Linked DNA regions of Homo sapiens: region 2 is linked to region 1. Evidence: promoter capture Hi-C in 16 types of primary human blood cells and fetal thymus (Javierre and others, 2016). All regions are on one chromosome and are shown on one strand. Each heading gives the region's core, a stretch centred on a gene start or on the middle of the fragment in contact. The rest is flanking DNA. Distances are from core to core; before and after follow the strand shown.

The links. The method cuts DNA at HindIII sites, captures the fragments that hold promoters and counts their contacts. A CHiCAGO score of 5 or more calls a contact.
Region 2: a fragment that was not itself captured here is called in contact with the fragment with the promoter of INO80C in region 1 in 1 of 17 cell types (activated CD4 T cells); the score reaches 5.2 in activated CD4 T cells.

Annotation. Positions count from the first base shown.
Region 1 is chr18:35,495,590-35,500,136 of GRCh38, forward strand. INO80C (INO80 complex subunit C) reads right to left here and starts at 2,371. Exons shown (of 5, transcript NM_194281.4): 1 at 2,130-2,371. The coding sequence starts at 2,285. RefSeq lists enhancers at 1,389-1,538, 1,809-1,928, 2,279-2,548. The HindIII fragment of the contact is 4,638 bases long and covers 25-4,547 here.
Region 2 is chr18:34,977,088-34,981,634 of GRCh38, forward strand. It overlaps a transcript of MAPRE2 not described here. Among named protein-coding and RNA genes, the nearest start is that of MAPRE2, 62 kb to the right of the region's middle. RefSeq lists a silencer at 1-18 and enhancers at 834-1,335, 1,180-2,379, 1,336-1,835. The HindIII fragment of the contact is 447 bases long and covers 1,676-2,122 here.

The sequences.
Region 1 (4,547 bases), core at 1,121-3,620:
TGAAGGCATTTGACCACTTTCAGAAGCTTGTGGTAGTGGAAGTTGATCAACAATCCCTTTGGGGTCAAAACAATTATTCCTACCCATATGTCCTAGTGACACTCCTTGGTCCTGGCACAACTGGTTATCAAAACGCACCAGTCGCAGGCTGGGAGCAATTACTCACAATACATACATCTGGCAAAGGAGTCTAATCAAGAAAGATAATGTAATGAACTTCTACACATCAATATAATTTTTTTTTAAAAGCCAATTAGAAAAAAATAATTAGGCACTCCACAAAAGATCTGGAATGTCCAACAAGCTCATGAAAAGTGATTGATATCATTAGCCATCAGAGAAACAAATTAAAACAAGGAGATACTACTACACACTCAACAAAATGGCTAAAAGTTAAAGACTGACAATGAAAGACTGACAATACTCTGTATTGTTGAGGATTTCGAGCAACTGGCACTCTCATACTTTGCCGGTAAGAATGCAAAAACAGTGCAACTACTTTGAGAAATACTGTTTAACAGTTACTGAGTTAAATGTATGCCTACCTTCTGACTCAGCAATTCCACTACTTCTCAAGAGAAATGAAAGCATCTATCTACACAAAGACTTGTACAAGAATGTTCAGAGCAGCTTCTGCACAAAGCCAAAAACTGTAAACGTTCAAATATTCATCGGGTGTATGTTTATACAATGCAACAGATGTACTAAACGACTCTCAAAAACATTGTCTCAAAAAGGAACCTAGACAGATGCAAAAGAATATGTTCCCTATTGTCCTGTATTATTCCATTTATATTATGTTCCAACCCAAAGTCAGTCTATTGTGAAGGGTGGCTGAACAGTGGGTAACTGTTAGGAAGGAAAGACAGTACTGACAGGAAAATGTCACCTGCTCTTAGAAATGCTATCTTGATCCAGGCAGTGGCCATAGGTGTATACAAATGTAAAAGGGCACTGGATCTGTAGTTTTGTTTTGTTTTGTTTTGTTTGCGATAGGCTCACTCTGTTGCCCAAGCTGGACTGCAATGGCACGATCATAGCTCGCTGTAACCTTGAAATCTTGGGCTTAAGTGATGCTCTTGTAGTTGGGACTAAAGGCGTGCACCATCACGCCCAGCTATTTGTAAATTTGGATGGGGGTTGGGGAGCAGGTCTCGAACTCCTGTCCTCAAGCAATCCTCTCACCTTGGCCTCTCAAAGTGCTGGGATACAGGCGTGAGACAGGATTCTTGAAGATCTGTGGTTCAGCCAGTATTCTTGAAAATTTGTGCATTGTACTCTGTGTAAATCTTACTATAGCAAAGTATTTAATATTAAAAGGTTAAAATAAAAAGCACTACCAATCACCTACAGAAGAAGGAACAAGATTTCTAGAACAGCCACTGACTGACTGGGTGAACGGTGGTGTCACACCATATGCTGAGGAGCACAAAGTAACACACTCTATCTCTGCTTTTTTGCTTTGAATAAAATGCAGGAGCCAGAGAAAACACTAATCAAGCCACTCCCTGCTGAAAATTCATTGCTGGAATTACGGAACCTAGATTGTTCAGAGGCCCTGACGTCTGAGCCAGGCGCTGAGCTCAGTGCCTTTACACTCATTACTTCATAACCTTAACAAGCCCATGAGTTAAGACCAAACCTGCCTTTGGATTGGGAAACCCAGGGTCAAAAAAGCACTTTTCTCAGGATGAGAGAAAGCATACTTATCAATACATCTTGTATTCATCCATGCAGGACATTACAGCGCTATGCGCCTCAAAGACACTGGGTAGATGTCTGCAGAATGGACGAGGGGAAGACACGCAAATTTCTGAATGACTGACACTCATTAGTCCTGAACCTCATGCTAAAGGCGACCTCGAGGGGAAGAGGCAGTCCTTCTATTAATACTAAGTCAGTAATAACCTCCCTACTTCTTCTTCTCTCCTTACAACACAAGGCGTTGTAAGCCCATGTGTCCAAACGAAGGGAAAGAGTAGTCATTCACTCCGCGGGGCAGCGTCTTTCAACCCCAACGGAGACCGCACGCGCAGCGCCCCACATTACGCACGCGCCCTGGCTCGGCTCCGCCCCGCCAAGTCCCGTTTCGCGACGCGCACGCGCAGCCTGGGAGCGCGACTGCGTACCTGCGCAAAGCTGGAAGCGGACGCTTTTTTCTTCTTACTGGCGCCATAGCCCCCGCCGCTGCTGCCATTGTGGGAAGGGCTGGCCGGCCTCTTCTTGCTGTTCCGGACTATTCCGGGAGTGGAAGTGGTGGCCACAATTGGAATTTGCGCCGCCATCGCACTCCGAGTCTTCCCCTGGTCCCCCCACCTTTTTCCCAGCGCGGGCCTTGGAACTTCCTTTCCGCTGTTACTTCCGTCTTGATGCTTGAAAACCCGGCCTGGACTCCAAGCTGTAGCTGGCTTCTCTCGGTGCAATCTAAAAGGCGGAGCTCGGAGTAGCCTGTGCCGTCGGGACGGGAAGATGTCAGCGGGCGTTGTCCTGCCACTCGGGCGCTCTGGGCGTGGGCCTTGGGTGGGGCACGTGCCTGGAAATCCCCATTGATAGAGGAATAGAAAATCTCCCAATCTTTTTAAGTAACTACGTTTTAAAAAATTAATGAGCGTGTTGTCTTTTCTCATATAGAAGAGTGATTACTTTTGATGTCTGTAAGCCTAAAGCTGGGGTCGTTCTCAGTAGACCGCCAAGCTACTGGCTTCTCCCTCTATCCCTCCCTGCCTTCCCACGCGGAAAAGGTTTGTATATAAATAGCGCCCAAATGGACATGAAGGGTAGAGTGGTTCTTAATCTCTCCCTTTTTTTTTTTCTTTTATTTGAGACGGAGTTTCGCTCTTGTTGTCCAGGCTGGAGTGCAATGGCGCGATCTCGGCTCACTGCAAACTCCGCCTCCCGGGTTCAAGCGATTCTCCTGCCTCAGCCTCCCGAGTAGCTGGGATCACAGGCATGTGCCACCATGCCCGGCTAATTTTGTATTTTTAGTAGAGACGGGGTTTCTCCATGTTGGTCAGGCTGGTCTCGAGCTCCCGACCTCAGGTGATCTGCCCGCCTCGGCCTCCCTAAGTGCTGGGATTACAGGCGTAAGCCACCACGCCCGGCCGGTTCTTAATCTCTTAGGATTCACAGACTCTTGAGCATGGAATCTGTGCTTCCTATCCCTGCCGCACACCCCCACCTCCCCACCACCCCATTAAATGTATACAGACACAGACAAAATTTTACAGATTTCAGGGAGGTCACAGATCTACTAAAACCTATTTAGGAACCTGAGTCCCCCTACCCGCCTTGTTCTTTGCCTCATTCTACCCTATATTTTTACAGAACCTTTGCGACATCATATAACTAAATGATTTATAATCGGATGGTTAATGTCTTTTTTGGCTCCTGCTAGAATGTAATCTGTATGAGGGAAGGGTCAGTTATGTCTTGTTAACTTATCAGTCCCCCCAATCACAGTACCTTGCAAGTCATTGGTGCATTATAAGTATTTTTAATGATGTATTTAACGAATGAACTAACTCCCTGCAGTGATTGGTGGAAGCTACTATGTTTGAATACAGGAAGTTGATGTATATGAGTCTTGATATTTGAAATAAACAGGCTGCACAATGACTTAGAGGTGAGAGAGAAGGAGCAGTTAGGGAAACTTGCAATATTGTTACTGACATATTTTTTCCTTTAGAGAAAGGAATAAGCCTACCAGTGTTGAAATGTTCTTTCCCACACCCCATCTCCATCCCTATCCTCATCTAAAGCTAGTCTTTTCCTCATTCCTTAACTCAAGGACTCACCTCCAACAAGCCAGTCACCTAAGCAAACTCTACTGTCCCCACCTCCTCCCATTCCTCACCTCCTCAGCTCGCTTCTCTCCTTCACGGCTCCTGCCCTGGTGAATCTGTATCCCATGTCTACATCTCAGCAACAGCCTCCAGATGGACGTTTCGGCCGCCATCTTTCCCTTATCCATTCCTGACCCCAGACCATCCTTCACACTGGCTGCCAGAATGGGATTTCTAAATTACAAATATAATCATACCACTTACTTTCTTACATTCTTCAGGGCCCTTTTGCCTTCAGGGTAAAATTTTTTTTTTACCTTCAGGGTAAGAACGTTTTGGCTTGTCATACAAGGTCCTTAATGACTGGGCTCTGGGCCGGGCGCGGTGGCTCACACCTGTAATCCCAACACTTTGAGAGGCTGAGGCGGGCAGATCACAAGGTCAGGAGATAAAGGCCATCCTGTCCAACACGGTGAAACCTCGTCTCTACTAAAAATACAAAAATTAGCTGAGTATGGTGGCATGCGCCTGTAATCCCAGCTACTCAGAAGGCTGAGGCAGGAGAATCGCTTGAACCCGGGAGATTGCAGTGAGCAGAGATCGTGCCACTGCACTCCAGCCTGGCAACAGAGCAAGACTCCGCCTCAAAACGACAACAACAACAACAACAACAACAACTGGGCTGTGCCCCATTCTGTTGCTTGGTTCCCAACACTTAATTCCTTGTGTTCCAGCCAAGGACTAACTCTATTTCCTAGAATGTAT
Region 2 (4,547 bases), core at 649-3,148, 520 kb before region 1:
AGTGCATTTAAAGCGGTACCGCCCTGGCGCACCCCGACACCCCCTGCACTGAAGCAGTCCCTCCCAGGCCAGGGGCTGGCTGCGCCTCCTCCTGCCGCTGAGGTCTGCAGCCCGCGGGGCTCGGAGCAACCGGAACCGGGGGTCCAGAGTCTAGCAAGAAGTTGTGCAAGGGTCGGCTAGGCGGTCTCCGGGTGTGCACCCCGCCGCTCTCCCGCGGGCCACATCTCTGGTTCGGTGCCCCAGCTCTGTGCACCCCAGGAAAGTGGAGGGAGGGAGTTGGGGCTGCCACGCTGGCAGAAGCGAAGTGGACTGGTTCTGAGGGGTGAGGCTGGGGCTGTCCAGGGTAGGAACACGGCGTTGGTGAAGGAGGGGGGCTCGCGACTGCGCGACCGCGGCGCACGACCCTCCAGGCTCTAGCTGGGGCGCCGGCACTGAGAGAGCTGGGGGCTCTGGCAGGGGCTGCGCGCTTGGGGGCAGATCAGGAAGTGCAGCGCGCTGGCGCTCGCGCGCTTGGGAGCATCCCCTGGACCCCGGGCACTTCCCCTTCGGCAGCCACCACTCTCCCACTCCGACGCCGGCCACCATCCGCGCTCCCGGGACTCAGGAGCCGGGTGGGTGCAAAAGGAAGCGGGTTGTTATTCTGCGCCCAAGCATCTCTTCTGCAGGGAGCCCCGGGAGCGCAGGGCGAGGGCTACTCAGCGACTTCGCACTCGGCTTAGTGGGAAATTCTTCGGTCTACCCTTAGAAGGGCTATGCGGAAGCCAGAAATCCCACAAAGAGCCAGGAGAGGGGTGGACGCGGAAAGCGGTCCCCTCTGAACCTGGGGCGCTCGATAAAGCTGATTTTCAGACCCCAAAAGGGCTAGTGGGTTTGGTCACTCCTCCAGTGACTTCGTCAATACAGTGCCAAGGGCAGAGCCGTAACCTCGGAGAAGGGGCGCTGCAGCCATTTGATCAGGAGAAGCCTTTGTCTTAACCCCCAAGCCCCTCCTGCTAGTCCTCGCTGGGTCAGTAGCGCTGGGAGTAATTAATATTACGAACATTAGCCTTTCCTTCACCTCCGCACCAGCCAACACTGCTGTCCCCTCCCTGATTGTCTTCTCTATCACTTGTTCACATCTCCTTTTCCAAAAAAAGAAGAACAAAAGGAAAATAGTGTAGACCCGCTAGGCAGGAAGAGGTCACTAAAAATACTATCGTGCTGTCAATGTAGAATGAAGGGTTAAGCGCTCAAACCCGCGCCCGCGCGCACCGAAACGGAAGAACTTCCTTGATTAGCATAGTATCGACCCTGGGGCCGCGCTGCGAGGCGGAGGTTCGGTCCCAGCTGGGGTGAAGTGTGCAGACCGGTTGCGATTGTGGTCAGACGCAGCACCTACTTCTAATCTGAGGACCCGCGATTTACACTTTTGCTGAATAGGACACTGTGGAATGAAACAGAACAGAGATCAAAAGGTAATCTGAAGAATGGCAACATTTCCCCTGCTTCTCCTGAACGCTAAATTTGGCCAAATTTTTATCAAGCAAAAAGGGGTATGGCTCTTGGTTAGCCAGTGTCCCCTCTGGAAATGAAATGCTTCCTTACTTTGCTTTCGTTCTTTTCTGCCAAACTGATTAAAGACATCAGTTAGGGGTAAGATAAGAGGTCCGGGAGCTCACCGAGTGATTGGTAGATAAGCTTAACTGGTAAATTTTCCTTGCGTGGGTAGAGCTATGCTTCTTCAAAGCACTGGTTCTCAAATTTTGCTGCATAGTGGAATCATCTGGGGAGCTTTGAGAACTCCTGATGTCCTGATCACATCCCAAACTATTTAAATCAGGTTGTTTGGGAGTGAGAAATAGGCACAGTATTTAAAAGCAAAAACAACTCCTGGTAACTTCATTGTGCAGCCAAGTTGGGGAAACTCTACAGCAAAGGAAGAGTTCAGCGGCCAGCAGCAGCAGGCATTGCAAGACAAGATGCCACTTTAACTACTTGGGTGGGTGAGAGAAAAGACGCTGAAACTGGAGTGCCGATGACTAACACCCTGGGGCGGGGAACTGTCATCTAGCAGCCTAGCTGGTGGTGACACCTACCACAACATTTTTCCCTTCCCTGGCTAGGGTCTGATTGGAAAAATCGAAGCTTACTTCAATGCCTGGTTTCTGCACTGTTGTTAAGGGAGACGGATAGAAACTTCCATTCCTGTGATGACTCATGTGTAGCAGTCAGTAGGAAAACCCAGCAGAAACATACTCCAGCAGCCTGGTGAGTCAGCAGGCTGCACAGCGATCCCAGTGAATAGGAAGTAATTACAGCGAGTAGTTTGTTGACACGCACAAACTGCACTCCTTTGAAAGCACATTTAATATCTGATCAGGATCTACTTGCTTGCAGGAGCCACTCCCTTTGTAGCACACCATTCTGCCTGTTTCATATAATGCTCTCTTCTGTTAGAAGGGGAAACACAAAGCTAACTAGACATCCTGTAACTTTCTTGGTGGGAAGCATGTAAAAAAAAAACTGTTGGGAAAGTGTAAACTGGTTTGGGTTATTTCAGTTATGTGAAGCAGAAAGGATGAATATGTAACACATAAATTTTGCATACAAAAAAGTCAAATACTACTTGATTATACATCCAGGAGTGAATTAAATGATCTATTTAAATAGAAATGGTTACACTTAACATTTTATATAAAACCTCATGTTGGCTATTAACCAAAGGTTTCTTGCCTTTAAAACTGTCATCCCAAAAGGATTACTCCAGGATAACCTGTTATCTCTGGTTCTCTGTATCTTTAACAGGTTATCTTAGAGTCATCAAAAAACAAACTTTCTTTTTCTTCTTTCAGTTTTAATACCTCTTCACTATTTTTAATATCACTATCACTCTCTGCACTGTTGTCTAAATGCTTTCTTCCCCTTCCTCAATTTCTTTTCTTTTCTTTTTCTTTTTCTTTTTTTCTTTTTTTTTTTTTTTTTTTTTTTGAGACAGAGTCTCACTCTGTTGCCCAGGCTGGCACGATTTCGGCTCACTGCAACCTCCGCCTCCAAGTTCAAGCGATTCTCCTGCCTCAGCCTCCTGAGTAGCTGGGATTACAGGCACACATCATCATGCCCAGCTAATTTTTGTATTTTTATAGAGATGGGGTTTCACCATGTTGGCCAGGCCGGTCTTGAACTCCTGACCTGAGGTGATCCACCCGCCTCGGCCTCCCAAACTGCTGGGATTACAGGAGTGAGCCACCACACCAGCCCTCAATTTCTTTAAGGAGGAAAAACAGTGTCTTGCACACAGCAAGCACTCAATATTTTTGGCCGTTGAACTTTATCTGAACCTCTCTTAGAGCATCTATTGTAGCCTGCTTGGTATTCTATTTTCTCATAGGGGCCTCAGTGTCTGTAGCCCCCAAAGCAGGGGCACAGACTCTGTTAGTTATTGATACTGCTTGTTCGTACTGAAGAGTATCAAAAGGTGGGGAGAACATTGAAAACCAAAGCATCCTGAGTACATTCAGTTTGCTGTTTTCCAAGACAGACATTCCAGATATATAGAAGCCAAAGTCCTGTCACAATTCTTACTTGCTATGATAGCTTATTTGTTCACTTACATTTCATACCCAACAATTTAGCATTTTGAGCATAACTAATAATTGTTATCACATTTAACCACACTCTAATGGGCCAAAACAATCACTTCACAAAATTTCACTCTCTACCCATTATTATGAAAAACCACATATGAATTTATTGAGCTAGGAGAAACATTGTAGAATAGATTAATAGTTAAATAGCTTTTATTTTCACCTGTGTATTGCCCATTAAAATAGCATAAGTACATTTAAATAGCCACCATATTAAAAGTAAGAAGTTGGATGTATTTTGTGATAAGTACAACCAAAACTAAATGTTAATAAGAATTTCCAAAGACCAAAATGATATAAATGCATTCATTCTCACTTCTTTGTAGCTTAGAAAAAGAACTGGGGAGGCACTTCTGAAATGTTAACACCTTTTTGGGAGGCATAAGAGATAAAGTAGTTTAGAAAAATAGAATTAACTTTGGGAGGCCGAGGCGGGTGAATCACCTGAGGTCAGGAGTTCAAGACCAGCCTGGCCAAACATGGTGAAATCCCGTCTCCACTAAAAATATGAAAATTAGCCAGCCAAGGTGGCACACACCTGTAGTCCCAGCTACTCGGGAGGCTGAGGTGAGAGGATCGCTTGAATCTGGGGAGGCAACAGAAGTTGCAGTGATCTAAGATTTCACCACTGCACTCCAGCCTGGGGGACAGAGAGGGAGATGCCATCTTAAAAAAAAAAAAAGACTAATCGGATTACTCCATATTAATCAGAAACTATTTCTCAGAGTATGATATATACCTAGCTCTGTAATATTTACAAGTAGCTAAAAGGGGTAGAGTAGAAGAAAGTGTGTCATCTCTATTTTATAAGCTCTAAAGTGTTTGAGAACAGACGAGAACCACCCAGTCTTATTACCTTAAATTTATATAGCCCTTTGGTCTTACTAACATATCAGGGCTTAATCATAATTGGGTAAATGGTAT